Linked DNA regions of Homo sapiens: region 1 is linked to region 2. The links are contacts of gene promoters, found by promoter capture Hi-C in human tissues and cell types (Jung and others, 2019). All regions are on one chromosome and are shown on one strand. The core of a region is centred on a gene start or on the middle of the fragment in contact, and the rest is flanking DNA. Distances in the headings are between cores, read along the strand shown.

Region 1 (6,976 bases), core at 2,193-4,692, 170 kb after region 2:
GATCCACATTCTTAGTCTGTCTTCACCTTATACTATCTTGGTTGGCAAGGTGATTTGGGTGGTAGTGGTGGTGGTTTTAGGTCCAGGCTTTATTTTTTCATGTCTTCCCTTTGATACGTGTTTTTGATGACATCTTCGGTCTGAGAATTTTTGCCATCGTTCTTAACCTTACAACTGCAACCATGTGCTTTCAGAGTTTACTTCTGTATCTACTTTGCTTACTAATTTAACCTTGATTAAATTAATTTGGTATTCAAAACCCTGTGCCTCAACCAGTTTTAGATATCAGGGTTCATCGTAGTTGAAAGCAAGCATACAGAGGTGGGCTTGGGGCCCATCTAAGGCTTCACACCTCCTCTATGCTAAGCGCTAAGCCAGCATGCATGAGGGGATCTTTTCAGCACCTCTTGTGAGGTAGAGTCCAGGTACATTATATCTCCAGTGTCACTGCCTTCACAGGCATGCTGTGGCAGTGCCTGTAAAAAGCACAGTGGCATTTTGTGTGTGTTTGTTTTTTTATTTATGTGATCTCTTCCTCAACTAAAACAAAATGCTAGATAATGAGGAAAAGTGACTTAGGCCAAGGATATTTTTATTACCTGAAAGCCTGTGGAAATACTATTATATTTGGAAACTTTAAACATGATCTGTGTTGGAATTGGTGGTCATACTATACTAGTTTGTAAGTATTGTCCATAGTGATGATCAGGTCTTACTTTAAATTAATACGAGATTTAAGCCCACTTTGATAAATGTGGAACTGCCCCTGTCTGCCAAGAAGACTAATAATGTACAATTGCCTGAAAAAATGCTCCTTGATCTTGTAATACAAACAATCCTGCTAACAATTTTTTTATTAAGTTACTTTGTAGGTACTTGTTTTGACTAGGTGTTGATTATATCTTTTTTTTTTTTTTTTTTTTTTTTGAGGCAGTCTCACTCTGTTGTCCAGGCTGGAGTGCAGTGGTGTGATCTCAGCTCGCTCACTGCAACTTCTGCCCCCTGGGTTAAAGCAATTCTTGTGCCTTGGCCTCCCATATAGCTGGGACTACAGGTGTGCACCACTGCACCTGCCTCGGCCTCGCACAATGCTAGGATTACAGGCATGAGCCAGTGCACCCAGCCTGACTATATCACTATTTAAATACACTCTCAAATTTTACCCAAAGGTGAGCTTATTAAATAAAGCACTCTCAAAAACTGTTGTTTCTGTGCACAGCAGAGAATCAAGAATGTTACAGTGACTACAATAAGGTCCTAGTGATACTTAGGAGACTAAAACTTGTCTGACATGTATGCATGGGAAATGTTTCAAGTACTAAGGCATTGCTAATATCAATCAACACTGAAATTTTAAAAATGTATAAATCCAGTTTTCCACAAGTAGTAAAACATTTATAACAATTATGGATGCCTTTTCCATTAGCTATTTGCAATGCTGTTAAAATAGACTCTTGAAAAGTCATAAATTCCATTCCTATGATGTAATGTTATCTGCCTTCATCATTAGGTGTTCCACCAGGTCCTGCCTATGGGAAGCTGAAAAATGGAATTTCTGTTGTTCTGGAAAATGGGGTTACAATTTCTCCCCAAGATGTCTTAAAAAAGCCTATTGTTGGAAGAAAAATCTGCATATTGGGTGACTGCTCTGGGGTTGTGGGTGATGGAGGAGTAAAACTGTGCTTTGAAGCAGACCTGTTGATCCACGAAGCAACCCTGGATGATGCCCAGATGGACAAAGCAAAGGAGCATGGCCACAGCACACCACAGATGGCAGCAACATTTGCAAAGTTGTGCCGTGCAAAGAGGCTGGTTCTGACTCACTTCAGTCAGAGGTACAAACCAGTTGCCTTGGCCAGAGAAGGAGAAACAGATGGCATTGCAGAACTAAAAAAGCAAGCTGAATCAGTGTTAGATCTCCAAGAAGTGACTCTAGCAGAAGATTTTATGGTGATAAGCATTCCAATCAAGAAATGAAACCAGTGTTCCTGAGTGCACACTGACATGTCTGTGAATATGTTACTGAACCTATAGTCCAGTTTTTTTATTTCTTGTTTTAGTCTGAAATTATTTGGGCCCTAATAATCCTAAAAAGAATGGAGCTGCATTGATGAATTGGCTCAGTATTTAAAGGGAGCAAACTTTTTGATAATAAATCTTTTTAAGAGAAAAAAAACCCAGCATCCTTTTTGAAGTCCAGATTTGTCAAAATGATAGACTATTCAGTTATACATCTTATTTTGTGCTACTACCACAGATAGCCAATATTCCATGCAGTCCTGGGCTTAGCTTCTGCCCAGCTTTATTGCTGCTATTGGCAAAGAGCACAGGACTCAGCCCTCGTGGCTAAAAATGGTATTTTGGCAGTTTGTATTGAATCTGTTTGTGTTATTAACAGAAGAGGGAGAAATGTCATGAGACGTTGGACAGGCAGGATTGATGATAGCATGACCATAGCTTTGCTGGAATACTGAATGCAGGGTTTGGCTAGGTGTTTATTTTAACATTTTATTAAACTTTCTATTTGGGTCTTAACCCATGGTTCTCAGCTGGGGTGACACTGCTCCTCTAGAAGCAGGTTTGAAATTATGGGTATGTTTTCTTGTCACAGTGACTGAGTACGGTGGTGGTAGTGGTGGTACTACTACTACTGGTATTTAGTCAGCAGGGATAAGGGATGTTAGCTGTCCTGCAAAGTTTTGGTCAGTCATATACAATAAAGAATCATCTCACCCCGAAATGCAAATTGCAGGCCCATTGAGATACACAGCAAGTTAGTTTATACTCTTGATGTGAATATAGTTTACCAAAATTAGTGACATAATGAGTGGAATTACTAGGTAAGTCAAATCCTAAAGAGTGAATGTGTTAGAATTGCAGTGTCATACCAAATAACATTCAAAAGAAATGAGCCATTAAGTGAAGCTTATGAACCTGGAGGTAAAAAATGCTTATCTGTTAAACTGAGGTTTCATTGACGTGTCCCTATTAATAAACGTTATTTGCCCCACAATGTTTCTTAAAACATGCTCCATGGAAAGCTAGCCTTCAGTGCTGATTCACTCAGAGGAGCTCCTCAGTCAAATCAGTTTGGGAAACACATTATTGCTGTCTGTCCTCCTAGGAGTGGTGTAGTGTCCATCAACATACTAAAAACAGTATTGCTTCAAATGATCATAAACCAGTGTTTGATGCCAGAAAGACCTGATCCCAGAGTCCCATTCTCTGATATGTGGTAGTACCTCTGTGTGGTCTGGAGCAGGTAACCCACTCTCTGAGTTTCTTCAGCTTGTTCATTTCAAAAATGGGAAAAACAGTAAGACCTATGTCATAGATTGTTAAACAAGACAACATATATAAGGAGCATAGCACATTGCTTGAAGGTGTTGAGAAATCCTGCAGTACAGAGGCCTGTCAGCTCTGTTGAACCCCTTTCTCAGTCCTATTTCACCAGGTACTACCTGTTAACATCTCAGGAACCTAGAGAGCTTTACAGCACACATATTTAGAAACACTGTTGTAGTACTTACTGTTCAATTTCCTCTGGGTTCTGGGGCTTCTCTGGCCAAATTTTTTGACTCCTGGCTAGTTGTGGAGACTCCAAAGTAGTGATGATTGGCTGGGGGCAGTGGCTCATGCCTGTAATCCCAGCATTTGGAGGCCAAGGCAGGCGGATTGCTTGAGCCCAGGAGTTCCAGACCAGCCTGCACAACATGGTGAAACCCCATCATTACAAAAAATACAAAACTTAGCCAGGCATGGTGGTGTGCCTGTGGTCCAGCTACTCAGGAGGCCAAGGTGGGAGCCTGGGGCGGTTGAGGCTGCAGTAAGCCATGATCATGCTATTGCACTCCAGCCTGAGCAACAGAGCAAGACCCTCTCTCAAAAAAAAAAAAAAAAAAAAAAGCAAAAAACAATGATCAAAATAGGTCTGGTTACTTAAGATATGATCATTCTGATGCAGTCTCTAGAATGGTCTGTCTTACTATAGACTCTGCCCGCAAAAAGTGCCAAATTTTGATCATGCATAAAGCATGCCATGGTTTCTAAATTCAATTCAAATAAGCATTAATTAGACATCTAATGTACCTAAACTTGTGCAAGAGGCTAGGACTCTAGGACTAGAATGGCTCAGATGAGTATCTCTAATGCATGAAGCCCCTGAGGATAGAGATTATTATGTCTTAGTCACTGCCACATCCTTAGAAATGTCCACCTAGAGCTGAGTGCAGTGGTGTGTGCCTGTAGTGCCACCTACTCAGGAGGCTGAGGTGAGAGGATCACTTGAGTCCAGGGGTTCAAGTCCATAGAGACATAGCAAGACTCCATCTTGGCCAGGGGCAGTGGCTCACACCTGTAATCCCAGCACTTGGGGAGGCCAAGGTGGATGGATTGCTTGAGGTCAGGAGTTCGAGACCAGCCTGGGCAACGTGGCTAAACCCCCGTCTCTACTAAAATTACAAAGATTAGCTAGGTGTGGTGGTGCATGGTAATGAAACTAGCCCATTTCATTACTGAACTTACCGGAAAGAATTTACACCACCTCTTTGGTGGTGCCCCATTCACTGAGTACTAAGTAAGTGCCAGACTTTATTGTGTTGGTAGTACATAAATGAATAGACAAATGGCAAAATTCCAGCCCTAAGCACACAGCCTAGTGAAAGAGACCAGTAGATAAAAAGTAAATCTGTAGTTGCTTCACATGTTCTAATCTTGTATCCTGGGCACTCGAATTTTGCTGTTCCTGAGCATTACTTGGTAGCTGACTTGAGCCATGCCCTTAGAATCAGGCTCTATAAATACATATGGGCTAAGCCCTCAGAGGCCATGGGAATGTGGAAACGATATGTTGGGTCAAGTGTAGAGTATCAGTCCATGATGAGAACTTTTTCTAGACCCTCTTCTGGGCTAGAATTTGTTTTCAGTGATAGAGACATTCTAAGAATTTGTGGAGCTAGAATTAAGAAAGAAGTTTATATTGGACTTCTCGGAACCTGTAATCTACCCAAGGATTTGACTCTTAAGTGGGGAGGGTGACCATATTATGTATTGTGTCCCAAATTTATTTGATTACTGAATCCTCTTTTTGCCAAGGAAGATCTTGGAACTTTAGAAATGCCATTCTCCATACGTTGCAAAATTATTCTATTTATGTTTTTTACCTGCAGAATTTATTGAGCTCATGATTTCCATGTCTACACTTAATGTATTACTTCCTTTGTCCTAAACTGACTCAATTGTAAGGAATCCATACATACCTACTTATTTTAGATTTTATTTTATTATTATTATTATTATTATTTGAGACAGAGTCTCATTCTGTATTTTAGATTTTAAAAAATGCACACTTGTGGCCAGGCACCATGGTTCACCTGTAATCCCAGCACTTTGGGAGGCCGAGGTGGGCGGATCACTTGAGGTCAGGAGTTTGAGACCAGCCTGGCCAACGTGGTGAAACCCCATCTCTACAAAAATTAGCTGGGCATGGTGGCGGGCACCTATAATCCCAGCTACTCGGGAGGTTGAGGCAGAAGAATCGCTTGAACCTAGGAGGCGGAGGTTGTAGTGAGCCGAGATCACACCACTGCACTGCCTGGGTGAAAGAGCAAGACTCCGTCGCAAGAAAAAAGAAGTGCATGTTCTAATTCTCCAAAGTTGTTTACACTTGCCCAGATAGACCCTAAATCAGCTCTGTTTAATACTCATGCCTCATTAATGCACTTTTAATGAACTTTGAATTATAAAAGCAGCGTATGTTTGGTAGAGAATTTTTTTAAGATGCAATAAAAGAAGACAATTATTCGTAATTCCTTCACCCACAGAGAGCTGTTATTTCTGATCCAGTGGTCCCCAAACTGAGGGGTGGGTGAGAATTACTCAGGGTGTGTAGGTAGACAGCGATCCTTAGGCTCTGTTTTCAAAGACTTAGGCTCTGTTTTCAAACGTCTGGGGTAATACCCAAGAATTTGCATTTTTAATAAGCCCCCAAGGTGATTCTGAGGTATATGAGTGGCAGACCATATTGGGAGAAAAAAACTGTCTATTCTATGCGTTTTAAAAGTTTTGCGTGTGTTTAGATATTTTGTATGTGCTTCTACCTATGTTGGTATGTGTGTATATTATACACATGTACACCTGTATATTTTTACATGTAGGCTGACCTCAACTGTTTTTCTCATTTAGCATATTATGAGGATTTCCCCACGGCATTAAGTGTTCTCTGAAAGCATGAATTTAATGATTTTCTATTATTGCATTCTATAGATACAGTATCACTTAACCGTTTTTTTATTTGGAGGCAGTGAGATTGTTTTCCGTTATTATAAATAATACTATCATGAATATTCTTATGCATAAATCCTTGTATCTCTGAGTATTTCCTTCCTTAGAATTGATTTCTCTGAGGGTGAAAATCTGACTTCTTTTTGGAGGTTCTGGGTAGGAATTGCCCACTGGTTTCCATGCTCTTTTACACTCCTAGCAGCAGTGAATAGGAGTGGCCTGTCTTGGTATTCTATCTGGAGATGATACGGAGTATCATCAGCTCATGACCTTGCTAACGCTTCTTCCCCAAGACATTAGTCCTATGAAGATTATTTTCACCTCCCAGTGCAAATAACTTTGTTATGTCTTGCAAGTAGGACATATTGTGATTTCCTTGAATACTCTTATGCCAACTTAAAAATTTGGTAGTTTTTACTTTAGGGGTAAAAATCCTTACTGCTTCAAATATGTCCATGATAGATGTACAGTGAAGGTACTTTTTTACTAACAAAGGTATAAATTTATCGTGAAATGTGCTGGTTCTGTCCTTACTGATTGATGGATTTTTCAGGTAATGAATGAGTCAGTATTTTTCTTACATGGGAAGACTAAAAAGGAAGCGCTGGTAATGCTCTGAATGTTCCCTCTTGGCAGGATAAGAATAGAGCGGGGAGGCGGGTAAGATCGCAAAATTATTTTCTTCCTTAGTAGG
Region 2 (6,707 bases), core at 506-3,005:
TCTATGGTCACCACATATGCCTAGCCTTGTATGACCAAGACCAGGAGGTCACCTGGCCATTTGGAAGCCAAAGACACAGCTCTGCTTATAGTTTTACTCATCTCTGCACACGTTCTTCAACGAATTCTTCTTCCTCTGGAACATACCCCTGAGTGAGCTATGTGCAGACCCCTTGGTTTTCACGAACCCCAAGACCCCGGCTGGGGCTTGTGTTCATTGCCAGGTTGTGCTCTACCTGATCTTACTGAAGATACATGGATTTGGGGTAACTTAGAAGACTGTTTTATGCTTTACACTGACTCCCATCTGCTTTTGCAAACTTGAATGATTCTGACTCAAAATATTAGATTTTTGGTCAATAATCCTTTTATTTATTGAAGCCAAAAGGTATATTATGAAGGCCAAAATTATAAAACACTTTGATTTTATCTCATCTGTAAAATGAGCAGAAGAAACTGTTAGATTGCTTAAAAATCCTTCCAACACTGAACTTATAAATGACAATAGTAGGCTGCGTGTGGTGGCTCATGCCTATAAATCCCAGCATTTTGGGAGGCTGAGGCAGGCAGATTGCTTGAGGTCAGGAGATCAAGACCAGCCTGAGCAACATGGTGAAACCCCGCCTCTACTAAAAATACAAAAATTAGCCAGACATGGTGGTGCACACCTGTAGTCCCAGCTACTCAGGAGGCTGAGGCAGAAGAATCACTTGAACCCAGGAGACAGAGGTTGCAGTGAGCCGAGATCGGGCCACCGCACCCCAGCTTGGGCAACACAACAAGACCCTGTCTCAAAAAAATGAAAAAAAAAATTAATATTAAAAAAATCGTCTTCATTTTAGAAAAGAAGAAACTGGGCTTAAAGTAATGTTGAACAATTAACTCAAAGTCAAATACTGGCAGAGCAGATTTTAGGACTCTGAAAGATATCCTTTCAGTCACTGTGCTATAAGCCTAGGTTCAGCTCCCAGGCAATGTCCTGTGAGCTGAACGAGGGAAGACAGACCGCATAGACATTTCAGTTTAAAGTGTCAATATCTTCCCTGAGTCCCTGCCATTCTATTATATTGCTGACAATAGAATGATCTATAACCCAACTATTGATCGATTAACATAGTTTGTGAAAAGCAAACAAAATCAGCTTCCTGGTCAACATTGCCCACTTCAGTTTTACAAAGAGAACATTACCAAATCCTACCCCCTAGAGGTCGAGCTCCCATACTGGTGACCAGAGTGACATTCCAGAAAGGTTTTGGGAACCCAAGTGCAGCCAGGACGCCTCCCGCTGCATCTGGCTGCCCCGGCCAACAGTGTCCCTTACCTGCGGCTCCTGCAGGCGGCTGCCACGTGATGAACCGGAGCCCGTTCCTGACTCGGGAGGGCTGCTTTCCCGGGTAGTAGCCAAATGTGATGACTCGGCTAAATTTTCCCAGCCCTGAATTCCTAACATACAAGAAGGGAAATTAGGAGGTGACGCAGGGTCTGTCCAGGATAACGGGTCGGCACAGAGTGTTGGAAAGTGAGAATCAAATAAGAGGGGAAAGTCAAAGTTTATAGAGTATTTGGGCAGGGGAGGGAATTGTTCTGGAATGAAACCGACAAGAATATTGTAGGGTGGCACAAGCATGACTTGCTACCTTTGCTTCCCCACGCCATGCTGAGGTGTTTTTCCTTCTCCTTGCTGTGATTTCCCCTCCTTCTTCCCTCATGCCAGCCTGGTCGACACTTTCTGCAGAAATTCTGCAGATGGCAATTCTGGGGACCTTTCCTCTGCACCAAACAAAACCTCCCTGCCAAGGCCCGTTCCCCATGCGGCCGCGAGATGGCGGCATGACTCAATGGACGGGTTCCAGGCGACCCCTGCACAAAGCCGCCGCCGTGGCTGCCTCCTTCCTTACATAATCCTGTTAGAGCGCATTTAATCTAAGGATGGGACACTGTGTTCCATGCCAAGCAGCCTCATCGTGGCTGATTGTTGCACCAACAACAAGAGCTTTAACCGTTGACGTCCCTTCCTGCTCAAGAAACACCGTATGTCCCGAAAGGAGCGATTTAAGCTCTCAAAATGATTTATTGGTAAAAAGCAAAGCAAAATTAAAACCGGGGAATTACAGCACCTGCAGAATTTAGGAGCCTCTCTCTCTCATCAGCCCTCCTTCCCTGACTCTCCAAACACGTGCATAAATCTATTTAACAATAATTAGTTATCGTCTCGCTCTGCATTGGGTCATAAAGGGAGAAAATATGTCCTGAAAGGAAAAAAGAACAGTTATATTTTCAAAGACAGAGGCACTTATTGTTATGCTAATAGATAACATTCAATTAAAACTTCTGTGTGCCAAATGTTGTGATAAATATTACATAGACTATCTCATTCAATTGTTACATCAAACCAAAGGTTAATACTCCTACTATAGTCTCCATTTTAAGGCTGGAGAAACTGAGGCACAGGGAGATTACCTTGACAAAGGTCATGCAGTTAATTTGTGGCAGTTAAAATTCAGCTACAGGCAGGCTAATGTAAGAGCTTGGACTCAGCCATGATGCTATGCACTGGACTGGTCTAGAAAACCCAGGAGATAAACAGAAAAATATAAACCAGAGAACTATGTCAGAGTGGAAGATGAAAGAAAAAGGCAGAAAGAAAATCGATGCTGCTGAGAAAATAAGAAGAATGAGGCTAAAACACCACCCTCTTCAGATTAAGTTACAAGGGAACCACTGTGACATTTGAGGACACAATTTCAATAGAGTGACAGAGAAAGGAAGCTAGACTGCAAAACTAAGGGGCTATGAGGAAAGAGGAAATTGAGATGTCTTGCTGCAAAAGGAAAGCAATAAATAGACTAGAAGAGACAGCAAGGTCAGGCAAAAGCATTTTGGTTTTCTTGTGTGCTTTTTGAAATGGAATAAAGCCTGGCCTTGTTTGAAAGTGGTTGCAAGGGAGCCCTAATATGTGGCTGGTGCCAAGTAGTGGTAATAGGAAGAGGTGGAGGGGGCATCAAGGGCACGAGGGAAAGGGTTAGCTCTGGAGGAGGAAGAAAGATGGCTGCCTCTGCCTGCAACTGGGAGGCAGCCACAGAGATGAAGATACATCAACACAAAACTGAGAGGAATGGGCGAGTTCAATTCTTCCAAATTAGCTTTAATCTTTTCAGTAAAACCAGAGTTAGGTTATCTGCCAAGAGCGAGAATGAGGTTTATACGGCCATAATCTATATACTGAACTAATCCATGTAGTGCTTAGAATGACCAAAAAGGTAATAAGATTATCCGAAGAACAGAGGAGACTGGAGAAAGGAAGCCCAAAGTATGATTGTAAAGATTCTCTGCAAAATCTCCTTTGTGAATCAGAACTGAAATTTACATCCCCTCCTCCCCATGAACAGAAACACAACAAACTATTAATAACCCCTTGTGTCTAAAGTTTCTTTGTATTCATGTTTTAAGATATTTGACAGAGAAATAGTATCTTCTCTACTGTTAAATAGGAGAACTAATATGCAGATAAATTTTCCTGTTTGACTTAAAACTACAAAGAACATCAGGGCCAGAACTGGAATTGATATCCAGGAGCCTTTCTGATACTTGCACTGTGCTGACCTCAGCTCTACTAAACACTTCTCATAAACGGCCTGGATGCAGCTAACTGCCCCTAGAGAATCCCAGACACAGCACAAACTTGGGAAGCATCAAAATCAACGCATGATGCCCACAAGAGTCTAAGATTCTCCTTATGTGGCCCTGGGTCACAGTACAGTTCTTTGGAAATTAGAGGGCAAGTTTGATAATTTGATTGCAACATATTTGCATATCTATAACATGATGTCCTTAAAAGAACACACCATAATTATTTAATGTAAGGATTTAATGACTCTATTTTCATTCTCAATTAACATTTCCTTATTGCCAGAAGTACACTGGGGCTGGCACAACTGGAAAAAGCAAAGAGGGTAATTATTTAGCCTGCATTACTGATGAAAAGGGCAACAGGCAAAGCTAAAGCAATCCACAATTCACCTTGTATGTGAATTACATGTGTATTACAATGTGTAATCAGGAAATTTATCTTTTTTAGTTTATTTTATTTTATTTTTGAGACAGGGTCTCACTCTGTCAGCCAGGCTGGAGTGCAGTGGGGGGAACTTGGCTCACTGCAACCTCCGCCTCCCAGGTTCAAGCGAATCTTACGCCTCAGCCTACCGAGTAGCGGGACTACAGGCGCCTGCCACCACACCCGGCTAATTTTTGTATTTTTGATAAAGACGGGGTTTCACCATGTTGGCCAGGCTGGTCTCCAACTCCTGACCTCAGGTGATCTGCCTGCCTCTGGGATTACAGGCATGAGCCACTGGGCCCTGCCAGGAAATTTATCTTAAAGAGAGAGATTTAAGTTTCCTCCCTCTCATCTTCTTTCAGGAAATACATCCCCCGCCCCCCGCCCCCCGCCCCCCAGCTAAGCTAAACTCTGTCTTGATTTTCACTTCTAAAAAGAAGTAAAATCAGCCACCTCCTTAGCCACAGGTTGGGTTTAGCAGCTTCTCATTCTTTCCTTCTTTCTTCCAGTGTTTACTGAGATCCTGCTTCCATGGAGGCAGAGTGCTCGGCAGGTGGGACCAACACTCGGACTGCGCTCTCAAGGAGAATCAACCAGTAGAGGACTTGGGACTGGGGCTTACGTGCCCACAGCGCAAGGCAGGAATTGATAAGAGCCAAGGAGAGGAGGTGATAATGAGTCAAAGGGCAGTCACTCGGGAAAACCCTTTGTAGAGGATGGAGCATCTACTCCTGCGCTTAGTGAAACCTGTTAGACAGAGAGGCATATGAGAAATGCCTCCCAGGAGGCAGGCCCAGCGAGAACACGAGGCCATGAAAGCCCGCCAGCTAGCCACCCCATGAGCCACCTAACCTGACTCCTCCACAGTCCACTCGCCTCCAAGGCAGACAGCCTTGGGAGGCTCTTCCCAAACTTCATGCCACATTTGCTTCCTCCCACTTCTCTACCTATGTGTTTTAATCTAAAAACAAAGGTCTTTTGGCTGCTAATCTTTGAATGCAATAGATGCTGCAGGAAGAAGCACTGGGGTTTATCCCTCCAGCACATGGAGGCAGGAGCGCCCCGTGGCCTAGGTCTCCTCACGCCCAGATGCAGTTCTCCAAACTCTATAAACAGTAAGCTGTCTCATCCAACCCTCCATCTGGCTGTTATGCCTTCCATTTTCTCTATTTTGTTACTTGATAGTTATTGTTGGTACCAGAATGCAAGAAAAAATTCAAGCTCTTTCTGTAGCCTCTTGGCCAGGGGTAATCTCTGAAAATGGTTTGCCTATCCCTTGACCCAGAAAACTCCACAAAATCATGCAAACCAAGGGACTCAAATCTTTATGTTCGCTTTAAGAACACCCATGTAACTGTGCAGGCCATCAAGGTATGCATACCCAAAAAACCACCAAGTACCTGAAAGATGTCACTTTTCAGAGGCACTGTGTGCCTTTCCGTCATTACAAAGGTGGAGCTGACATGTGTGCCCAGGCCAAACAATGGGGCTGGACACAGGATTGGTGGCCCAAAAATGTGTTGAATTTTTGCTGCATGTGCTTAAAAATGCAGAGAACAATGCTGAACTTCAGGGTTTAGAGGTAGATTCTTGGATCATTGAGCACATTCAGTTGAGCAAAGCCAAGATATACACCATATTTACAGAGCTCATGGTCAGATTAACCCATATGAGAGATCCCCCTGCTACATGGAGATGATCCTCGCTGAAAAGGAACAAATTGTTTCTAAACCAGAAGAGATATTTACACACAAGAAAAAGGTATCCCACAAGAAACTGAAGAAACAACATGGCCTAGGAATACATTCAGTATAAGATAAATGCAAATAATAGTTTAGCCAGGCATGGTGGCTCACACCTGTAATCCAAACACTTTGGGAGGCTGAGGCAGGAAGATCACTTGAGCCTAGGAGTTTGAGACCAGCCTAGGCAACATAGGGAGACCCCCATCTCTATAGTTAAACAAAAAATTTAATTACCCAGGCAAGGTGGCATGTACCTGTGGTCCTAGCTACTTAGGAGGCTAAGGCAGGAGGATTGCTTGAGCTCAGGAGGTCAAGGCTAAAGTAAGCCATGATCATGCCACTGCACTCCAGCCTGGGTGATAGAGCAAGACACTGTCTTTTCTTTTTTTTTTTCTTTCTTTTTTTTTTTTTGAGACAGAGTCTCATTCTGTTGCATAGACTGGAGTGCAATATTGCGATCTCGGCTCACTGCAACCTCTGCCTCCCGGGTTCAAGCAATTTTCCTGCCTCAGCCTCCTTAGTAGCTGGGACTACAGGTGCGTGCCACCATGCCTGACTAATTTTTTGTATTTTTAGTAGAAACAGGGTTTCACCATGTTGGTCAGGCTGGTCTCGATCTCCTGACCTTGTGATCCGCCCACCTCGGCCTCCCAAAGTGTTGGGATTACAGGCATGAGCCACCACATTCAGCCAAGACACTGTCTTTTAAAAAAAAGTTCAAAAAAAAAAAAAGGCCGGCACAGTGGCTCACGCCTATAATCCCCACACTTTGGGAGGCCGAGACGGGAGGATCACCTGAGGTCAGGAGTTCAAGACCAGCCTGGCCAATGTGGTGAAACCCTGTCTCCACTAAAAATACAAAAATTAGCCAGGTGTGGTGGTGCATGCCTGTGATCCCAGCTACTT

The links. Contacts are between HindIII fragments. The study calls those that stand out against the background at their distance.
Region 1: a fragment that was not itself captured here is called in contact with the fragment with the promoter of MRO in region 2 in 1 of the 25 tissues and cell types used here (H1 embryonic stem cells).

The regions. Positions count from the first base shown.
Region 1 is chr18:50,985,109-50,992,084 of GRCh38, forward strand. It overlaps ELAC1 (elaC ribonuclease Z 1), which reads left to right. Exons shown (of 4, transcript NM_018696.3): 4 at 1,511-3,013. The coding sequence ends at 1,977. All of the region lies in intron 1 of LOC107985152 (a long non-coding RNA gene), which reads right to left. Among named protein-coding and RNA genes, the nearest start is that of ELAC1, 21 kb to the left of the region's middle. RefSeq lists an enhancer at 6,920-6,976. The HindIII fragment of the contact is 4,113 bases long and covers 1,387-5,499 here.
Region 2 is chr18:50,818,261-50,824,967 of GRCh38, forward strand. MRO (maestro) reads right to left here and starts at 1,756. Exons shown (of 8, transcript NM_031939.6): 1 at 1,637-1,756; 2 at 1,321-1,442. It also overlaps the pseudogene RPL17P46. RefSeq lists enhancers at 1,441-2,074, 1,911-1,960. The HindIII fragment of the contact is 21,582 bases long and covers 1-6,707 here.